2 separate regions of the Homo sapiens genome follow, and region 1 is linked to region 2. Evidence: promoter capture Hi-C in 16 types of primary human blood cells and fetal thymus (Javierre and others, 2016). All regions are on one chromosome and are shown on one strand. The core of a region is centred on a gene start or on the middle of the fragment in contact, and the rest is flanking DNA. Distances in the headings are between cores, read along the strand shown. Region 1 has its middle 9.7 kb from the start of TRV-CAC6-1. Region 2 holds the start of H2AC15 (H2A clustered histone 15).

Region 1 (3,330 bases), core at 714-3,213, 640 kb before region 2:
CAGAGATTGATCAAAGACTTTAATACTTTCACTAATTCTGCTACTGCTATCTTCTAAGAACTTAAAAGGAGGAGCCAGGTGTACAGGCAGAACATGAAAGTGGACAAGGAGTGTGACCTTTGAAGCACAGCACCCCAGGGAGACGGCTAAGCCTCCGGATGACTGTGGGCAGGCCTGGCTAATGTCAGGCCTCCAACAAGAGCTGGTGGAGCAGAGTGTTCTCTAACTCCCCCAAGGAAAGAGAGATTCCCTTTCCCAGTCTGCTAAGTAACAGGTGCCTTCCAAGGCACTGACACTACTGCTAGACCAAGGTCTGCTAAGTAACGGGTGCCTTCCCAGGCACTGGCACTACTGCTAGACCAAGGAGCCCTCAAGCGGCCCTTATCTGGGCGTGACAGAGGGCTCACACTCTCGTCTTCTGGTCACTTCTCACAATGTCCCTTCAGCTCCTAACTCTGTACGGCCTGGTTTTTCTTTGGTAATAATAATAATACAAAGATTAATACTAAAAACTAATGATTAATAATATCCATTATAATCACCTCTGTATTCTATTTCTAAAATAACTTTTTCTTATCATAATTATTTTCTTTATTATACTGGAAGAGGTTGTGCCTTCAGTCTCTTGCCTCAGCACCTGGGTGGCTTTCTGCCCACATTAGATAAGGCCAAATTAAAAGACCAGGTTTTTAAAGCATCTCAGGCTCATTTAACTCTCCTGCCTGGGACTGACATTCTCACTGAAGCTACTGATGGACTTTCAGACATAAACCCTCTTAAATGGATTAAGACCATTAGAGGATCAACTATTGCAAATTTTGCTTTAATGTGTATCTGTTTATACTGTTTGCTTTTAGTCTACAAATACAGAAGACACCTCTAGAGAGAGACCAGACACCACGAACAAGCCTTAATAACAATGGTGGTTTTTAAAAAAAGTGGGGCATATTGGGAAAAAGGCTTGTGGGGTGCCTGCATAAGCTGGCCATAAAAATATGAGACAATAAGTTGTGGAAAGCCACAAGAGGCCTCTGAAGAGGAAAGCCTTCTTATCGCCATTATGTTCCCATGCTCTGAGTGCAACCTGCTCTCTTATCTATAAACACTGTGTTCAAGAAGAAAGACACTCCTTTGAAGCATTGGAATGTAGACAGACGTGCAGGCTCCTAGTTAAGCCCGCTCCCACTAGCTACACTCCGATAAGTTATAGATACGATGTTTGGGCACAAAGGAGATTCATTTAAACCGCTATTGCTATAGATTATGCCTATAACACACTGCCTCCCTTTCACCGTTTCGCCCTAAACGTCTGCTTCTTAGATGTAAGTGATTGTACTCAATAAATAGTGTGGAGACTGGAGCTTGGTGCCTTTTGCAGCCTCCATTTTGCAATTGGCCCCCTGGCCCCCACTCTTTATACACTTTAAACCTGTCTCTTCTCATTCCTTCGTCGCCACAAAGACTTTAACTACCCTATGGGTGGTGTTGAGGCTGGTCCCCAACAAAGATCTCTCTCCACTTAGAAAGCTTTGGAGGGGCTTCTCTCAGCTCTCCAGTCCTGGTACTTGGCAGCAGAAATACAAAGTGCGCTAGATTGATTTCTCTTAGTTTTGTGGCTGTGCTCACCAACTTCAAAAGACTTTGCACCTGAGGATGCCTCAGTGGATATTCCTCTCCACTTTCCAGCCTGCCCATTCACCTTCTTTTGGGATGCTCTCCTCTAGCAGAGACAACTGGCAGTGGTTTTTTGGCTACTTGGAATTCTGTGCTTGGGTCAAGTAGGCCCACAGGCAAATCTTAAAAATCTTTTGGAGTTTTGATGGCTTTTTCCCTCATTTAGTATTCAAGGGTTTCTCTTCCTCTGCTTGTCTGCCCATCTGCCAGGAACAAGGGCAGCTAGAAACCTCTTTTCTCATATGAAGACCTCTTTCTAGGTGGAATTTGATTAGATTCCTTTGTATCAATTCCCTGGTGGGTTCAGAAAATCTACTATTTTGTAGCTTATGCTCTTGCTTTAGTTATTAAATAGAGAGAAACAGACTCTTGCAATTTTCTACAACTTAACCAGAAATGGAATTCAGTGGGGTGTATTTTTAAATACATTTCCTGATTTCTGTGCCAAAATGCCTTTTGTCATGTCTTGAAACTATTTCCTTTAAGATACATAGCAACAGCCTAGCCACTCTCACTTAGAAAACTAACCGTTTGAGGGTCCACTTCATGCCAGGTGCTTTGCATGTTGTTTTAGGTAAACTTTAAATCACACCTCATTGATCCAATGGATATTGAGATAGCCATTATTGTTCTTATATTTAAGTTATGCAAAGTCACAAATAATGTCAACATGATGACACAAAAACATCAAGAAGTGAAACGGCTAACTACCTACAAGTGCATTCCTAAGCTTTACTTAGACTTCTAGATGAATCTGCTGGTCACATGAAGAGTGACAGGATGTCACATAAGCATTTGTTTACATTTCAGAAAGTTACCTTTAATAGTGTCCATTGATTACACAGATGTTTACTGAGAACGTGACATGATCCAGTCTAGTCTTTTTTTTTTTTTTTGGAGAGAGAGTCTCGCTCTGTCGCCCAGGGTGGAGTGCAGTGGCACGATCTCAGCTAACTGCAACCTCCGCCTCCCAGGTTCAAGCAATTCTCCTGCCTTGGCCTCTGGAGTAGCTGGGACTACAGGCGCATGCTGCCACACCTACCTAATACTTTGTATTTTAGTAGAGATGGCATTTCACCGTGTTGTCCAGGCTGTTCTCGAACTCCTGAACTCAGGCAATCTGCCCGCCTCAGCCTCCCACAGTGGTAGGATTACAGGCGTGAGCTACCGCGCCCGGCTGATCCAGTCTATTCTTTACTGTGGTCATAATGGCCCCCAAACCACACGTGGTCTCTCCTCCACTCTTCCAGACCTCAAAATCCAGAGCACTCATGACTTCTTAATAATTGCTTAAGTATCCAGATGGTCTTCTCCACCTAGGGAGTATCTTTATTTTACCTTATGAAAGATCTTCTTGGCCGGGCGCTGTGGCTCACAACTGTAATCTCAGCACTTTGGGAGGCCACCACGGACAGATCACTTCAGGTCAGGAGTTCAAGACCAACCTGACCAACATGGTGAAACCCCTTCTCTTCTAAAAATACAAAAATTAGCCAGGTGTGATGTGCCACGCCTGTAGTTCCAGCTACTGGAGAGGCTGAGGTGGGAGAATCGCTCAAACCCAGAAGGCAGGTGGAGGTTGCAGTGAGCAGAGATCACACCACTTCACTCCAGCCTGGACAACAGATTGACACTCCGTCAAAAAAAAAAAAAAAA
Region 2 (3,155 bases), core at 54-2,553:
CCCGGTAGAAATTGGACGACACACACACAGATAGCAAAGCAAAGCAGCAAAAGTTTAGTAAACAGAGTATTACACTCTCGGGGGTGGGAGAGAGCGGACTGACCTCTGCGAGGTGAGATCAGCGTCAGCTTGCTGTAGTTTGAGTCATTTTATGTGTGTGCGTGCGTGTGTGTATGTTTTCTGTTCCCAGTGCTGCCTAATCTATAGCCAGCATCTGCCCTTTTATTGATAGGTTTGTTGCTTACTTTGTCCTCTGTGGCTTGTGCCTCTATCTTATAATCTTAAATATATGCATGATATGTAGCCCATATGCATGAACCTTAAGTAGCTGATTATCATACGGGCTTTTGTTAAGGATACTTTTCCTCTCTAATACGCATGCCCATCTCTGAAGAGCTGCCTCTTAAACTGGTTTGTTCCAGATCTTGCCGGCCACGAGGTCCTTGCTCACATTATCTCTTTTGTTTCGGCTGCAAAAGGTTCACTGCTTGTTATCTCGCTTCTTGTTCACCCGCCCATCTACCTTACTTCTGCCCTTTGCTTTTACTTATTCTGCCCTCTAACTTTCAGCTCCCTTTGTTATTCTCTTGCCTCACTTTTCTTATTGTTTCAGCTGTATTGCAGGCGCGAGCTGCCGCGCCTAAATTTCTTGATGTACCGTAAACATTTCAATGTCTACTTTCTATCTCAAAACAATGTGGTGTAAAAGCCGTTTAGTTTTGCTTCATCTCCATACAGCATTCCAGTGCCATTGCAAAATGACTCGACTATCAGATAAAACTGAACACAGCTCTACTTGGTGAAAAAGTAGGTGGCTCTGAAAAGAACCTTTTTGGTTTGGACCGAGGTATGAGTAATGAACTGCTCCAGCCCCGCTACTTGCCCTTGGCCTTGTGGTGGCTCTCAGTTTTCTTAGGCAGCAGCACGGCCTGGATATTGGGCAGGACACCACCCTGGGCGATGGTCACTTTACCAAGCAGCTTGTTGAGCTCCTCGTCGTTGCGGATGGCCAGCTGCAAGTGGCGCGGGATGATGCGGGTCTTCTTGTTGTCGCGGGCCGCGTTGCCAGCCAGTTCCAGGATCTCGGCGGTTAGGTACTCCAACACCGCCGCCAGGTACACCGGCGCTCCGGCACCGACCCGCTCAGCGTAGTTGCCCTTGCGGAGCAGTCGGTGCACTCGGCCCACTGGGAACTGAAGACCCGCCCTTGAAGAACGGGTCTTAGCCTTGGCGCGAGCTTTGCCGCCCTGCTTGCCACGTCCCGACATGACGTAAAAAATTCAATCAGTAACGTTCCTGAGACTGACGTAACGCTAAAGCTCCGCTACTTATAGTCAACAGAGGCACGAAAACTAAGCTGTGCTATTGGCTAACATTACAGTTTCGCTTTAACCAATGGGATTGCGGTTTTGAAAAACACTTATTTTGATTGGACAAAGTTAATATACGTTTCCAGGACTCACCACTGGTTAAACGCACAACTTCATTCTCTACCCCACTTGCGTTAAGAAGCAGTGAATAAGCGGTAGGTTGACAGAGCTACCGTCTTCCTGTTTTTTTCCTCCAATTTTCCGGCAGTTACTCCCAGTCATGCCCGAGCCCTCAAAGTCCGCTCCTGCCCCGAAGAAAGGCTCCAAGAAGGCAGTGACAAAGGCCCAGAAGAAGGACGGCAAGAAGCGCAAGCGCAGCCGCAAGGAGAGCTACTCCGTGTACGTGTACAAGGTGCTGAAGCAGGTCCACCCCGACACCGGTATCTCGTCCAAGGCCATGGGCATCATGAACTCCTTCGTCAATGACATCTTCGAGCGCATCGCCGGCGAGGCTTCCCGCCTGGCGCATTACAACAAGCGCTCGACCATCACCTCCAGGGAGATCCAGACGGCCGTGCGCCTGCTGCTGCCAGGGGAGCTGGCCAAGCACGCGGTGTCGGAGGGCACCAAGGCCGTCACCAAGTACACCAGTTCCAAGTGAGCCCGCCCACCGCGGAACGTTCGGTCAGTCTCGGCCCACACCCCAAAGGCTCTTTTCAGAGCCACTCAGTCTTCCCAAAGAGAACTGGCACTCACTGTTCTTACAGCAGGTATTTCTTACTTGCTACAAAGACGATTTCCAAGATTCCTTTAGCCTTGTTAGAAACTAATTTTGGCTCAAGCCTCTAATCCCGGTTCGGGAAACCGAAGCGGGTGGCTCACCTGAGGTTAGAAGTTCGAGACGAGCCTAGCCAACATGGTGAAACCCGTCTCTACTAAAAGTACAAAAAAATAGCTGGGCGTGGTGGCGGACGCCTGTAATCCCAGCTACCCGGGAAGCTGAGGCAGGAGAATCGCTTGAACCCGGCAGATGGAGGTTGCAGTGAGCCGAGATCGGGCCATTGCACCCCAGCCTGGGCAGTAAGAGCGAAACTCTGTCTCAAAAAAGAAAGAAAAAGAAAAGAAATTAATTAGCACTGCAGTGTACTGCATGTTGCAGCAACGCTTGAGACAATTTTATATCTGAAGAAGGATGAGGTTTATCATCAGACAAACCTAGTAAAGGGAAAATTCAGTTCCTGTTGACCCCAAAGAAAATATAATACTTAAGTGTCACTGGTAAAATATCCACAGTGCTTCCGGCGCTCTGTCCCTAAACTTCATGTGTACTTTAGTAATGAAGCAGTTGGCACACACACAAACGTACAAATCGACTTGTTTGTTTTGAGAGTGGTGCTGTTTCTCCTCCCTTGTCCCCAGTTTGGATTTGCTAAATATTAAGATAGAAAGGCAGTAGAAAAAAGTTTGAACCCAGTTTACAGCACCGTACACGTCAATCGGGCTGAGTTGATGTCAATGGCCAATCCCGACACTGCGAGGGCAGTTTGAAACTTGGCCACCGTTTTCTCTGGTGAGTGTTCTAGTTGGGAAAATTCTTGGCAGTGCAGGTTTTTTGGAGGAATCTTGCTGTCTTACTCATTCCCATAATTCTCTTGTGTGGAATTCCTATTTATGAACATAGTTTCTATTCCCTACTTTTTCTGTTAGGGTCTGCTCCATGTTTTCTTGTCTGTGTCACTTGCGTTTACTGTATCTCTAGTAATTGGAAGAAATGTTAAAAGAAAAAAAAATAGAGGAGGAGAAGGGCTGTTCTCCATTGTTTTCCCCCACCCCCAACTCAGGAAA

Evidence for each region. The method cuts DNA at HindIII sites, captures the fragments that hold promoters and counts their contacts. A CHiCAGO score of 5 or more calls a contact.
Region 1: a contact is called between a fragment that was not itself captured here and the fragment with the promoter of H2AC15 in region 2, in 1 of 17 cell types (naive CD8 T cells). The highest score is 5.2, in naive CD8 T cells.

The regions. Positions count from the first base shown.
Region 1 is chr6:27,194,776-27,198,105 of GRCh38, forward strand. No RefSeq gene overlaps it. Among named protein-coding and RNA genes, the nearest start is that of TRV-CAC6-1, 9.7 kb to the right of the region's middle. The HindIII fragment of the contact is 877 bases long and covers 1,526-2,402 here.
Region 2 is chr6:27,837,072-27,840,226 of GRCh38, forward strand. It overlaps H2AC15 (H2A clustered histone 15), which reads right to left and starts at 1,304. Exons shown (of 1, transcript NM_003510.3): 1 at 809-1,304. The coding sequence starts at 1,268. The coding sequence ends at 876. It overlaps H2BC15 (H2B clustered histone 15), which reads left to right and starts at 1,498. Exons shown (of 1, transcript NM_003520.4): 1 at 1,498-2,039. The coding sequence starts at 1,591. The coding sequence ends at 1,971. RefSeq lists enhancers at 1-371, 460-549, 620-669, 940-1,049, 1,120-1,209 and 2 more. The HindIII fragment of the contact is 16,643 bases long and covers 1-3,155 here.